5 separate regions of the Homo sapiens genome follow, and all the other regions are linked to region 2. Evidence: promoter capture Hi-C in 16 types of primary human blood cells and fetal thymus (Javierre and others, 2016). All regions are on one chromosome and are shown on one strand. Each heading gives the region's core, a stretch centred on a gene start or on the middle of the fragment in contact. The rest is flanking DNA. Distances are from core to core; before and after follow the strand shown.

Region 1 (2,700 bases), core at 90-2,589, 730 kb after region 2:
TTATTAGTCAATGTCTATGATTTTAATGTTATTACTAGAATCACACTGTTCATTATTTCCCCCAGTTCGTTTAAATCTGCAAATACCTTATGTTCAGTTTTACATCTGTTAAAGCAAGATCCTCAAGGGCAGGGATGGAATTCTACTCACTTCTGCATCCCTTGACATTGCAGTGTGTGGAACAGAGATGACAAATACAGGTTCAATTTGTGCCACCTGAAAGAGTGCCATCTAGAAGCAGTTGCTTCAAACTGCACTTCAACGGGACCCACACGCCCTGCTAAGCAACTCAAACTCATCATGAAATAAATCTGCAGAAGAAATGTGTACTCTCTATTCAAACTCTGAAGTAAATAAAATGTGTATGATTGACACAATCACAAAATGGCATTTAAGTGGAAGTCTGCTTCCTGAAGAAATAAAAGCCAGAGCAAACAGATTTGGGGTCATATTTTTGTTCACTGAAAGGACCAACCAGTTTCATCAAACAAGCTTTAGAGAAAGAGAAACTGAGTAATTCATCTTGTCAGTTACAGTTCACATATATGCACACACATACAAACTGGCTCAGCATCAGTGAAACATAACTATTCAAATACAAAAGTATAAAAAACCTCTTTAAAAAACCAATAGCAGCCAAAACAGAACATTTGTAAACAAAACCACAACTATCAGCCCTGTGCTTAAACACAGAATCTGCATTCTTTTGAAACATTAAGTATATGCAATAAAGAGAATATAGACCATCTTTTTCCTTAATATACAATACCCAATATCTAAAACAATGTCACCAATAATAGACACAAATCGGTGTTATCATAAGGCATGTTGAACAGTCTTTTTCACAGTACTCAGGGGCATCATGTTGCTGCAGAGGCCACACTTTCCAGAAGTTTTCTCCTCGCTGTGATCCTCGCACACCGGGGGCACTCGGAGGACTGGAAGCACTGTTTGTGAAAGCAAGCCCTGCACGCTGCAAGCAAGGAAGAGAGCCGTTAGCAAACGGTCTATCTTGTTTTCTCACATTTCTGCAGACATTCGTCTCCATCCTAGGGAGGGAGAGGGGTCTGAATCCAGAGCCCAGAGTCTTCTAAAAAGAAACCAGCCAGGCTGAAACGCACGTTTCAGCAGGTCACATTTCAGCAGACCTGTTGGACTCTTCCAACAGGTCATGAACAGGAGGCTCAGAGAGCCTGATGTAACGGACACTGCAGTGCCCCCTGGATCTGCTCAAGCACTGAGGCAGGCGTTTCCCCAGCTGCCAAGAGAGGTGGTGGCTGATAACTCTTGGGAAGCCACATTGTTTCTCTAGATATGGCCCTACATCGAGAAAGCTGCTTTGTCCCCTTCCTGGCACCAGCCTGCATTCAATGACTGATCACTATATAGTGAGTAGGCCGGCCCCAATTTGTCCCCAGTTTGGAACAATGCTGAAAGGCCACCAAACTCCAGAGCTCCCCGTGAGATGAGCTGAGGGCTCCACTGCAACCCCACCACAGTTCAACTTCTCCCTCTCCCAGTCTTGCTGCCTGCACACCCCTACAGGTATTAAGTTGAAGAACATGAAACTTTTTGTAGGCAAGTCTCTGCCCCAGAGTCTCTTTGCTGGGGAGCCAGTCCTGCAACACTGCCTAAAGGGTTGGGGAGACAACACTGGAGTGGCCTGAGAGGAGGATATGCCCCTATCAAGGGTGAAGGCAGAGTTCATTACCAGGATCTCTCCCATTAAACAGAGTTTACAGAACACGGGATTCTCTCGGGCACTAATACCACAGAAGGGTCGGCAACCTTTTCTGTAAAGAGCCAGATAGCAAATGTTTTAGACCCTGAGGGCCATGTGGTCTCTACAACAGCTACTCAACTCTGCCTCCGTGGCACAAAAGCAGCCAGAGACTTCACCACTGGGCATGAATGATCCAATTACAAGACAGAGAGGTGGGCACAGGCAACAAAGGGACCATCTCCTCTATCCAAACCCTGCACCAGAAGACATTATCCTTTATCCCTGCCCCACCCAAATACTCCTCCTTCTGTGCCCAAAACTTCATTATCTCCAATCCAGCATACAAGCACACACCAGCATGACTGTACTTTAAATAACTGTGCTTAAATTATTAAGCTATTATTCAGCTTAAGTTAATTTTGTGCTTAAGTTACTAAACTTAGTTTAATTAGTTAACCTATTATTAAGCTTATGTTATTAAGTTATTAAATACCTGAACATCTTCTACATGTTGCTGTCTGAAATGGGAAGATGACAGTCGTATTCTGGCAAAATTCACAAATAAAGCCCTTTCCTTGACACAGCTGTAAAAGAAGACATCAAAAAGTTACAACCTTCTCTTGATGGATAAGCTGAGTTTTCACTATTACAGAACTTTATAAACATCAGTGTTTCAGTGTCTATGATTCCAGCCTCTAGAAGGAAAAGGATGTTGTTTTGCAGCAATGAATGGGTCAGAATCAAAAAAAAGATAAAAATGTACATTCAACCAATTCCATATCAAAGCAGTTTTAAAGTACCAGAGTAAGGTCCTAATTGTAAACATGCACTCTGAAATGATCTAATTTCATTTATCATTGCTGCACTACAATTCTTCAATCCGTGTAGACACAGAGCCTCCTGTTCCATTGAATCCTGGTTCCACATGACTATACTTGGTGCATCAGGGCAGAGTGGGCCCTGAGCAGAACTGGGCA
Region 2 (2,700 bases), core at 15-2,514:
GGAGGCTGACCACAAATGAAATTTCTGGTTTGGACTTTTCAGCCCCCATCACTTCACTTTCCCTCCTGCTATGGGGGAAACTCAAGAGATGAGTTATGGGTGGGCTAAGACAGCAAGCTGGGAGCTGGTGAAGAAGATGGAGTGGGTGACCCTTGGCTTTCACTGGGCTTCTCCCAGCCGATGCTTGGAAACCCTAGATGGATCAAGGTGAGAAGCCTCATTTCTGTAAAGGACTCCAAGGATTCCATGGTGCTCTGCAAACGTAATGTGTTCTTGTTGCTGTTATCATCTACCATAGCTGTTTATAACCTTGTTCATTAACTTGTGTGATTCTTGGCTGAAGTCTGCTGCTCTCCCCCATGAGGGGAACAACTGATGACCTACTTCTGTGAATTCCATGGTGCCAGGCCTGGGCTGATCTGGATCTACATTAAAACATGCCAGGGGGCAAACATGAAATCAAAATGTTCTGGCAACCCCCTTAGACCAATCAGTGCAGTGTTTAGCACTATAGACACCCAGTGCACTCATTACAACATCATTTCCTAGGACCTTTTTTATAAATAGAATTTCGAATATATTCAGGTTTGAACTTTCAAGGAGGGTGACTTTGAGCCATCACTTGGAACAGAACACTTGTAAAAACACTGACCTTGGTCACTGCTCACATCTCCCTGGAAGGCCAGTTAGGACTGCTGTTTACCCCCCACATTAGAGAGGTAGGGGAAGGAAACAGGGGAAGCTGAGTGACTTGCCTTTGGGCCACAGGAGTCGCTTCGTGGGCAAGGCTGGAGTTTTCGATCTGGGGAATTTGTTCCTGGTTGGGGGACTGGTCTATATTCAGGCTGTCAAGGAAGAAGTCATAGTATCCACACTCGCACTTCCCCCCAGAGCTAGGGGCTCTCTGGAGAGAAAGTGACCCCTTATCCTTTATTTGTAGAAATATCATGACCCAACAACGGCCTTCACAATGGGAAGAAGCTGGGTCGAAGCAGATGTCAGAAAGGCCAAGGGAATAGAGAGGCCGAGAAAGGGCGAGAGAAACAAAGAAGTCTATGTACTTGGCGCTTCTTTGTTGCCCAGATCCTCCACTCTGCTCCCTGCTTTCTCCCTCAGAGAAGGAGGGGGAAGAGGAGGAGGAGAGTGGGTGGAGAGGGAGGCGGAGGAGAAAGAGGAGGAGGAGCGCATTGCTAACGTGCGCAGCCCTTACCCAAGCCAGGCTCCCGCGCGTGCATCCACCGCGATCTCAGGCCCCGGCGTTTGTGGCAGCTCTCGGTTACCATGGGAACCGCACTCCGCAGCCTCCCTGGGCCCCATCTAATCTGCGTGTGTGCGTGGCGGAGAATTCTAAGCCTCTGCACCTGCCCTTGCCTTCCCTTTCCCAGCCTCTCTCCTGGCGGGGAACTGTTTGGACCAGTCGTCAGCGGCGGCCAGAAAGTTTTCCTGCTGTCTGCCTGAAGGTCGCCTGTGTCAGGGGGAAGTTGCAGCCGTGGGGATTGTGTTTCCCTGAATGGAGACAGTACACGTCAGACCTCCAGGCTGGGACTTTCTAGAATCCTGGGGTCCAGTGCTAAGCTTGTGGTGGCTGCGTAGATGAAGAGATGGGACATGTGGCTCTCAAGGCCCTGAATGGGCTCACTGGAGCTGGTCCCCAGGAAAGGAACTGCCCTGAAAGGGATAGAGAGACCCACAAGGGGTTGATCTGGGGCCAAGGGTTGGAGAAAGCTGAGTTCCCATGCCCTGGCCACTGTGAGTGGACTTGCAGGAGTGGCAGAATGGTCAGGTGGGGTGGGAGGCTGGGTTGCAAACCACTTCTATGTAGGCATTCCTGGTCAGTTGTCACAGAGGTTTCAGAAGGACCTCAGTCTTTGAAGTGCTTGCAATTTGCCCTTCCTTTTCTTTCCTTTTCTTTTTCTTCTCATTATACTTTAAGTTCTGGGATACATGTGCAGAACGTGCAGGTTTGTTACATAGGTATACACGTGCCATGGTGTTTTGCTGTACCCATCAGCTCGTCATCTACATTACGTATTTCTCCTAATGTAATCTCTCCCCTTGCCCCCCCGCCCCCGATAGGCCCCAGTGTGTGATGTTCCCCTCCCTGTGCCCATATGATCTCATTGTTCAACTCCCACTTATGAGTGAGAACATGTGGTGTTTGGTTCTCTGTTCCTGTGTTAGTTTGCTGAGAATGATGGTTTCCAGCTTCATCCATGTCCCTGCAAAGGACATGAACTCATTCTTTTTTATGGCTGCATAGTATTCCGTGGTGTATATGTGCCACATTTTCTTTATCCAGTCTATCATTGATGGGCATTTGGGTTGGTTCAAGTGTTTGCTGTTGTGGATAGTGCTGCAATAAACATACGTGTGCATGCGTCTTTACAGCAGCATGATTTATAATCCTTTGAGTATATGCGCAGTAATGGGATTGCTGGGTCAAATGGTATTTCTGGTTCTAGATCCTTTAGGAATTGCCACACCGTCTTCCACAATGGTTGAACTAACTTACACTCTCACCAACAGTGTAAAAGCATTCCTATTGCTCCACATCCTCTCCAACATCCATTGATTCCTGACTTTTTAATGATTGCCATTCTAACTGGCATGAGATGGTATCTCATTGTGGTTTTGATTTGCATTTCTCTAAAGAGCAGTGATGATGAGTTTTTTTTTATACGTTTCTTGGCCGCATAAATG
Region 3 (2,700 bases), core at 13-2,512, 600 kb after region 2:
CAACGATCTTGAAGAGCATAGGTACCTGACTCAATTTACACTGTCATTTTTTATGCTTAAAAATATAAACCTTTTTTCACATTTACAAAATATGCACGATATATATTACTTGAGACTAATCTTAGCCACAGAGCTGCCTTTTATTTTCAGCTTTGTATTTCTGAGAAACTAATGAATCTATGGTGTAGATAACAGCAAAAGTGGAAATAAATTCATAGTCTGGGGCAGCAGTATAATTGGGACACAGTAAACTTACAAGGAAAAGAAACAGTACACTACTACTGTAAAGGAAAACAAGTTGCATAATATTTTCCAGAGTCTGATTACTTTTTTGTTAAAACTTTTCTACTTTTTTCATTGATTGTTTTAAAACATGTTTGCTACTAAGGAGAAAAAGGAAGACATGGTTATGGTGTGAATCTTGAAAGATCCCCAAAGCTAGAAAGATTTATACAGAAGTCTCTCATTTTCCAACTTCTGTTATAAAGTTCCTGCGCTAGTACTTAGAAAAAACCAAACCTGGAAGGAAGCTCTACCTAGTTTACTTTCTGAGTTCGGATTTCCGCATCTATCAGATGAGCTCTTTCTAGTGCTCTTTCCCCCTCAAATCTCCAGAGAAACACGCACATTTTTGCAAACACACACGATGTATCTATGACTGCACACACAGGTTCATCAACACCATGACAGAGGCGACACGTCACAATATGATAACCAGAACAGAGGACGATGACAGTGAGAAATGGGTTTCTTTTATGGCCCGCTTGGATCCCTAATGCCCTTATTTCTACACAATCCAGCCTCAGCCAGGAACTTTAAAGGATCAGAAAGAGAAAACAGGTTGCATGAAAGGAAGAGAAAGAAAACCGAATGCCCGCTTTTCGAGAGCACTGCAAAATTAGCCCCGGGACCCGGCTGCACAAAAGTGCAGCCTTAAAGAATGCCAGCCCATATTCTAGACACCCAAGTAAAGCATCCTGTAATCGAGAGAAAATAATAAATAATAGTGGTCATTGCCATTAAGCATAAAAATAGTAATAACAATTGTCACCACGGCGTTCCGTACAGCAGCTGCGCGTGGAGCCGGCTTCTCCTCCGGCCCCCACGGCCCGCAGCTTCCCCTGCAGCCCCACAGTGCGTCGGAGGAAGGCGAGGGCTCCGCGCGCGCTGCACCGTGGGCTGGGCCTGCCCCTCCCGGCGCCCGCCTCGCCTCGCCTGTCCCGCGCCCGCCTCGCCTGTCCCGCCCCCGCGCCTGCGCGTCAAGTGGCTGGGCTGGCTTAGCGGACCCCGGTTGCTAGGGTGTGTCTCCTTGGCCTCCTAGAGGGTGGGGATCCGTGGTGCTTCTTCGGGAACAGCCTCCTGCAGGAAGACCCTCGCTGGACCTTTACCTCGCTGCCTAGATTCCGAGGAAAAGGAGATAGGAGACGAAAAGCCAGTTGGTTTGGAAAGCGGCCGATTATCCTAAAGGGTAGTGTGGGAGTCCAGCACTTCCATGCCCCTCTTTGGGTACTACGGAAGGGAGATTTCCAGCATCGTGTGGAACATATGACCAGGGAGTACACCTTGAGCGCTTGTGTGCAGTTATCTTTTGGCGGTAAACGGCCCATTTGTGCAGTTTCAGGGTGTTCCCTTCTAGGCTATCAATGGAATAATGCCGTGCCAGGCACTTTTGATGTTGCCCTGCAAACTAAAAGCACATTTTGGGGGTGCATCTTCTCGCATTATTTCTAAACAGTATGAGTTGGGATCCAGCAGCCCTGGGAAATCTCATTATAGTGAAACCCATCTTATTTTAGGATTGAATTGTTTTGGCCCAAGCATAGTGGTTGAAAAACAAGCCATTATAGAAAGAAAACAATTTGTTTGTGAATGGTTAGATATGGTGGGTCTTCAGAGGCTTATCTAATGAAGGCATCTTCTACACATTTCTGACCAAATTCTCTTTCTACATTTATAGCGATAACATTTTGGAGAGAGAGAAAAAAAATGTCATTTCGACTATTCTGAAAAATCAGTATTTACTAGTTGAAATAGCATTGGCAAATTGAACTTTGTACTAACATGGAAAATTGTAGAATGATCCTGGGTAGTAATAATACACATATTTTTAAAATTCTATGTTTACTTATAACCCTACATTTTAACTGGATTCTTTCTATTAATAGAAGTTTTAAAGAATTATTTTCTTACCCTCTTTTTTTTTCATAAAGGAATTCTGCCTGGATTCAGTAGAGTATTGGTACAGAATGATTTTCTTTAAGATGTAATCTAAATTCTTATTATTTTTCAACAATTCAAACATATTCAAAACCTTTTCAATTCTCATTTAAACCAAGGATTATGAAAAACAGCACTTATTATTCATTAAAATGCAAAAGCCCCCACTGCTTCTTCGAAGACCCTTACCTCCAAAATTCACTAAGCTGTCTTTACATGAGAAAAAAACCCATACAGGTATGTGTATTAATCAGATATGTGTATTAACATTTATGTATCTTTCATAGAAATTCCTTGACTTGCACAGCTCAGAATCACAATAAATACACTCACTAATAACTTACAAATGTTTGTTGTCAGGTGATAACATCCAATTCAATTCCACAGATGCATTTACTGATACTTATTGGTGGACTTAGTAGATTCAAGTTTATCTCATCGATAAAATTTACTTGTAACCCCAGAATTGGTACTCAAAGGGCT
Region 4 (2,700 bases), core at 199-2,698, 530 kb after region 2:
AAATATGGCCCACTGTCCTTAAAGTACATGAAACCACCAATTTTCAGAAAACAAAACTTTAAATTAGGATGATTTCTTAATATGACCCTTTACTAGATAACGCTACACATTATGCATTTCATGAGCTTTACTTGTCATTTACTTTTACTCTACTTCTCATTAGGAATCAGTTGACTTCAACATGAACTCATTGGATTTAACTCCAGTGATATTAAATGAGGCACAGAAACGGGCAAAGAGACTTCTCAAGATCAGTATTAAAGTGGCGGCAAAACAGAAGTTTTATTATAACATTCAGACCCATGTGGGGTTATAGAGTCTACTAAATGATGAACATATATAGAATTGCCTAGCATGCTGGATGGTGTTTAATTACTATTGGTTTCTTTCTTTAATGTTGTATTTCCAGATTCAGTTTTCATCAATTATTATCCCAAACTGCTCACAGTTTTACCGTTTTAACAGGGCTTTAGGCAGAAATGCCCAGTCATGGAACTCCAGAATCAGGGCCACACAAGGTAATGGAACTGCCAACATGAAAATAGCATCATATTCTCCAAACACAACTGGGACCTGGCCTTACCCGCAGTCCTGACATGTCAATAACAACAGCAGGAACACCTTCTTCATCTCCTTTTGGAGCCACCTGCTCAAGCAGGTGGTAATAAGCTTTTGAGTCCTGTGAGAAATTAAGAAATTCCAATTTCAAAATAGCACAGCTAATTACATACTTAGCATAACAATGATTTCCCAAAAGCAAACATTTTATTTCATATTCAGCTATCATTCCAGAATGTAACTTAACAAAGCTAGAAACATTCACTAATTTGAATGTTCTATTTGTCTCTTTACATATCACATTTGCTTTTCTTTTTAAAAGGAGCGTAACAATAAAATAGACAAGATATACACAAAAGGCACCCTAAAGAAGTGGATATTATTCTGTTGTCTTTAGGGGAGAAAAACAACTTATTTACATGAATTAAATTGTATACAGGAAAATATATATATACCTTTATATTGCTGTAGAAGTCAGTCAGCTAAGGTTTAATTAAAAAAAAGTGACAGAAAAAGGAAGCACAAGTTTAAAGCGAGTTTAAAATACATTTAAATGGACAATCAGCAAGAGAAAAAGATGTCAAAGACAGAAGATTGAAGCATTAACAAGCAATCTTTACGTAAAAGGAGAAATATTAAGAAAAGTGCATTTCATATTTATCTAGAAGCTAGAAAAATGGTTCAATTTAGTTATAGCAGATTAGATACAGGTATTGAATTCTCAAGTTTTCTTAGATTCTGAAAATATGCTTATTGACAAAAAGAATTCTCAGAATTATAGTCTTAAAATATAAATTTATTCTTAGTCAATGAAAGCATACAGATTTTCAGGTAGTTTATTTAAATCATTTAATAGCATCTCAATTTCTCATAAAGATCGAAAAATCAGCTATTATTTTGTTTCTACAACTGGTTAGGGTAGGTAAGGCCTGGGCAGAGGAGAGGTATGCTCACCACTTTTGGCATTAGAAAGAGGAGAACCAGAGAGTGTGAATCATTGATGTTGCACCTGGGGAAAATGATCTTCATCTCCCTTCTATCTACCCTCCCTTCTCTGACTTTTCACTGTAGCTATTTTGAAGTCAGTGAAAGTCACATGCAGGTGTCAGGCACCAATACCATCTGCCTGCCCTGGGTTACATCTTTTTAGTTTGGCTAAGAGTAACCTCATTTCACCTGACTCTCATGAACCTTCTCACTCACTCTAGCCTGGGTGTTCTCCTCGCCTTTGCCAATTTACACGATTTAAAGACATCTCCCAAGGTTGCTGGCTGGCTACTCAGACATACACATGACAGCACGGAGTCAGTTGCCATGCAGCGGCTGCCAGAGAACAGGCACAACACTGTATAAGTAAGTGCTCATCTGGCCAGCTCCTATCTCATACAGACACTTCCCAAAGCACAAAATGGTGGTTCTAGAGAACACAGCCATTTAATGACAGGAAATTAGGTAAATTTACAGCTGAGATCTGACAGCCTAATTTTGTCTGAAAAGTTTTGCAATTGCAGAGCTTAACTGTTGAGCACAAAGGGAGAGCATGACAGCCAGCTCCTGTTAAAACCCAGGTCGGTTGGTGGTGCTAGAAGAATGTTAATAGCCCATGAAAGATGCATAGTTAGAAAGATGGATTTAGCTTAGATCCTAAAAAATGGGGGCTTTCCATCTAGAAGCTTGACTCTGACTGGCACAGTGCCTGACACACGCTGAGTTCTAAATGCCACTGAATGCACGTCATATAGCAGTGGGAAACTGTTACTCAAAGAATTACAAGCCTAGGTGTACTCCTGTTGAGTCATGTGAACTTTCCTCTGACTCTTTCTCTTTGGGGAAAAGTTATTTAATGTTTGAGAAAGTGGAGACTGAAGTATTTTCCTGGTGTTGCATCCCAGCATCTCCTACTCTTTCCTTCTAGGGACCGCTTTCCATTCCTTTCTGCTCCTTAACCACTTTCTATCTTCATCCATCTGTCATCATTGCCAATAGCTGTTTTCTTTCACCTTGACAGGGAACTTTTCATATACTTGAAAACCACAGTGTATTCCTGCCTCAGCCTTTCCCCTATGGACCTCTTTGTCTCTTTATCTGTAAAATGAGAGGATAATAACCCTTACCTCATGGGGTTGTTGTAAGGATTCAATA
Region 5 (2,700 bases), core at 24-2,523, 680 kb after region 2:
GAGCTACCTGTCCCTTTTGAGGGAGTTCCTCCATGATTGCCCCTGAATGTGAGAAAGGCTGTTTCCTGACACCTGGAGCATGAGAAGAGTAAGAATCAGTCTACTCAATGTGCCACATCAGTTTTGGAATGTCTGACCCCCTTCACAACATTTCAGCAACAACACATGAATTTGTTTGATGACTGGGAAAATCTAAACAAGTTAAATTTTCCACTATGTTTCAAATAAAGAAAGCTGATGTTAGAAAATTCTGCAGAAGTCAGAGGTGTCTCCAGAATACTACTATGACTAGATTTCTTTTAAGCTGAAACTTCATGAGGCCAATTGGCATATTCCTCTGGAACTCAGACAAGCCATTTGCCATAATTATAAAAAGCTTAGTGAGAACCATGGGCTTACCTGAAACTGTACAAATAAGTCAGTTTGATTTTCTTCCTGTACTTTTCTCTAGCTCAATTGCATATAGCTTATGGGTTGTATTCTTTTTTTTTTTTTTTAACTAAAAAGAGATGCACACCAATTGTACTTTTTGATCCCTGGGTCACTCTTGCTTCTGTCAGACACTTTTAATTTAGGAGTGAGGTAATAAGATGTAAGCATTACCCAAGTAATTTATAGTAATGCAAAATTTGGCTCAACAAGCAGATCAATAGTCTCCGTAAGGCCTGGGCCAGCTACAGACAGTTTCACAAAGTCATTATCTAATTGGAAATATCTGCTGGGACACCAGATTTCCCACTGACATTAACTGGGCATTCTCTTAGCCCAGAAAGCATGATGATAGATTATCCTTGAAACGGCATTCTGACAAGGGCATTTCTCTGTAACATCAGGCATCACAGAACAAATTGCCTAATTGGAACTTTACAATTTTATTTTCCTTTTCTGTTTGGCAATACACCAAAAAGAGACTCGGAAATGATCTATGGTATTCCTTTTGTCAAAGCTCAAAGAACTCTTAACTGTTCTTGTATTTTGATTCCACCTGAATTCCTCTCATGATGATGCTACAGGTGTTTATCATCATCACTATTAGGTTTATCTCCTTGTCCCCCACTCTATACAGGGCAAATGGAATTACCGCTATTTGTAGTCTTCAGCGGACACAAGTGTAAAAGATGTCCTGTGTAAGACAAATAAGTTTAAAAGTATGAAAACAAGGCCAGCTGCAGTGGTTTAAGCCTGTAATCCCAGCATTCTGAGAGGCCAAAGCAGGGGAATTGCTTGACCAGGGGTTCGAAACCAGCCTGGGCAACAAAGCAAGACCCTGTCTCTACAAAAAATAATAATAAAAAAATAGCCAGGTATAGTGGTACAGGCCTGTGGTCCCAGCTACTTGGGAGGCTGAGGCAGGAGAATTGCTTGAGCCCAGGAGGTAGAGGCTGCAGTGAGCTGTGATTGTGCCACTGCACTCTAGCCTACATGACAGAGGGAGACCCTGGCTCTAAAAAAAAAAAAAAAAAAAAAAAAAGGGGAAAACAGTATTACCTTAAAAAGGTGACGGAATGCTGTTAAGCACTGTCCCAACTTGAGGGTCTAAATTTTGCTCATTTCACTAGGATTCCTGCCCCAAGCACAGGACAGGGAACTCTGAGAACACTAAGCTATGAGGGCCCCCTTTGGGTTTGTAGATATCTTGGGAAGTTGTCCACATGAGGAAGGCTGGGCAGAAGCATGCCTTGTGGCATTGCTTGGGGTCACTTTTGCTAGTCAGTCAACTGGTGAGGCAGAGGGCTGGGTGGAGCCGAGGTTCATGTATAGGGTGGAGGAGGAGAGGGAGATCTCCACATGCGTGAAGGCTGGGTGGTCAGCCACGAACACACTACTCAAGGCAGCTCCTGGGCGTGTGAGAGGGGGACCCTGCATTAGGCTTCCTATGAGTCTGCCCTTCCCAACACCCTGACCCACTCCTGCACTGCATGGACAGCCTCTTTCCCCATTCTGACAATTCCCTCTCACTCAGGTGTCAGAAAACTAGGTCTCCATCCCACAACCACTGGTGCATCTCCCTCCTCTCTATCCTATGGGTTCCATTGCATGCCCTTCTCACAGCTTTCCTAAACAGCTGTATTCTCTTTTCATTCACAATAGAGCTTGAGTTGCTCATCTACACCACAGCCCAATCATGGCTAGCCCAAAACAATCTGGACCCCCTTTCCTTAAGAACCAAGAAGCTTCCATTTTCAAAGCCCTTGAAAACTTTCAAATAGACTCAGATCCTAGTTCTACAAGAAAGCCCACTGTGAAGGCTGATAAGCCCACACTAACCACACAATTCCAGGTAACAGAGTCCACCCTAGAATGTTCCCTCAGAAGCACACTGTATGCCCCCAAAGCAATCCATAAAAATAACACGTGGAGTTTTCCTATATCAAAGATGTCCTTAACTGTTCTTATAACTCTGAACTAAATTGTGATCTCCAATTTACATAACTTTCAGACGTCTTAAGAGACCTATTCCAGAGCTTAATGGGAAGTGGGTGGGTGGAAAGCTCACAAGACAGCCAGAGCTCTTTTCAAATGGTTTTATGTTTGTTACCCACACAATGGGCAGGTATGATCACTTGGTGGGTGGCCATCCAATGACCACAACCAAGGAGGATTTAACAAGGGGATTTTATTACTTGCAACAAGTAAGGAAGACACCCGGGATAGTTCCCCAAAACAGTACCTTTCATAACAAAGGTGAAAACGGGGCTT

The links. Contacts are between HindIII fragments. The CHiCAGO score rates a contact against its expected background, and 5 or more counts as called.
Region 1: a fragment that was not itself captured here is called in contact with the fragment with the promoter of ERICH6B in region 2 in 2 of 17 cell types (total CD4 T cells and total CD8 T cells); the score reaches 5.8 in total CD4 T cells.
Region 3: a contact is called between the fragment with the promoter of LRRC63 here and the fragment with the promoter of ERICH6B in region 2, in 5 of 17 cell types (endothelial precursors, fetal thymus, naive CD4 T cells and 2 more). The highest score is 13.5, in endothelial precursors.
Region 4: a fragment that was not itself captured here is called in contact with the fragment with the promoter of ERICH6B in region 2 in 1 of 17 cell types (endothelial precursors); the score reaches 6.4 in endothelial precursors.
Region 5: a fragment that was not itself captured here is called in contact with the fragment with the promoter of ERICH6B in region 2 in 1 of 17 cell types (naive B cells); the score reaches 5.6 in naive B cells.

The regions. Positions count from the first base shown.
Region 1 is chr13:46,342,525-46,345,224 of GRCh38, forward strand. RUBCNL (rubicon like autophagy enhancer) reads right to left here. Exons shown (of 15, transcript NM_025113.5): 14 at 2,217-2,307; 15 at 1-973. The coding sequence ends at 861. Among named protein-coding and RNA genes, the nearest start is that of RUBCNL, 43 kb to the right of the region's middle. The HindIII fragment of the contact is 1,699 bases long and covers 491-2,189 here.
Region 2 is chr13:45,614,475-45,617,174 of GRCh38, forward strand. It overlaps ERICH6B (glutamate rich 6B), which reads right to left and starts at 1,265. Exons shown (of 15, transcript NM_182542.3): 1 at 1,211-1,265. RefSeq lists an enhancer at 888-1,389. The HindIII fragment of the contact is 3,697 bases long and covers 1-1,573 here.
Region 3 is chr13:46,210,666-46,213,365 of GRCh38, forward strand. LRRC63 (leucine rich repeat containing 63) reads left to right here and starts at 1,263. Exons shown (of 10, transcript NM_001282460.2): 1 at 1,263-1,594; 2 at 2,337-2,454. The coding sequence starts at 2,370. It overlaps LOC107984578 (a long non-coding RNA gene), which reads right to left and starts at 1,187. Exons shown (of 4, transcript XR_001749863.3): 1 at 1-1,187. RefSeq lists a silencer at 1,019-1,348. The HindIII fragment of the contact is 5,320 bases long and covers 1-2,700 here.
Region 4 is chr13:46,147,769-46,150,468 of GRCh38, forward strand. It overlaps LCP1 (lymphocyte cytosolic protein 1), which reads right to left. Exons shown (of 16, transcript NM_002298.5): 9 at 584-679. Among named protein-coding and RNA genes, the nearest start is that of LCP1, 33 kb to the right of the region's middle. RefSeq lists an enhancer at 2,228-2,700. The HindIII fragment of the contact is 1,562 bases long and covers 668-2,229 here.
Region 5 is chr13:46,291,152-46,293,851 of GRCh38, forward strand. All of the region lies in intron 2 of LOC105370194 (a long non-coding RNA gene), which reads right to left. Among named protein-coding and RNA genes, the nearest start is that of LINC00563, 5.3 kb to the right of the region's middle. RefSeq lists an enhancer at 2,307-2,700. The HindIII fragment of the contact is 1,798 bases long and covers 375-2,172 here.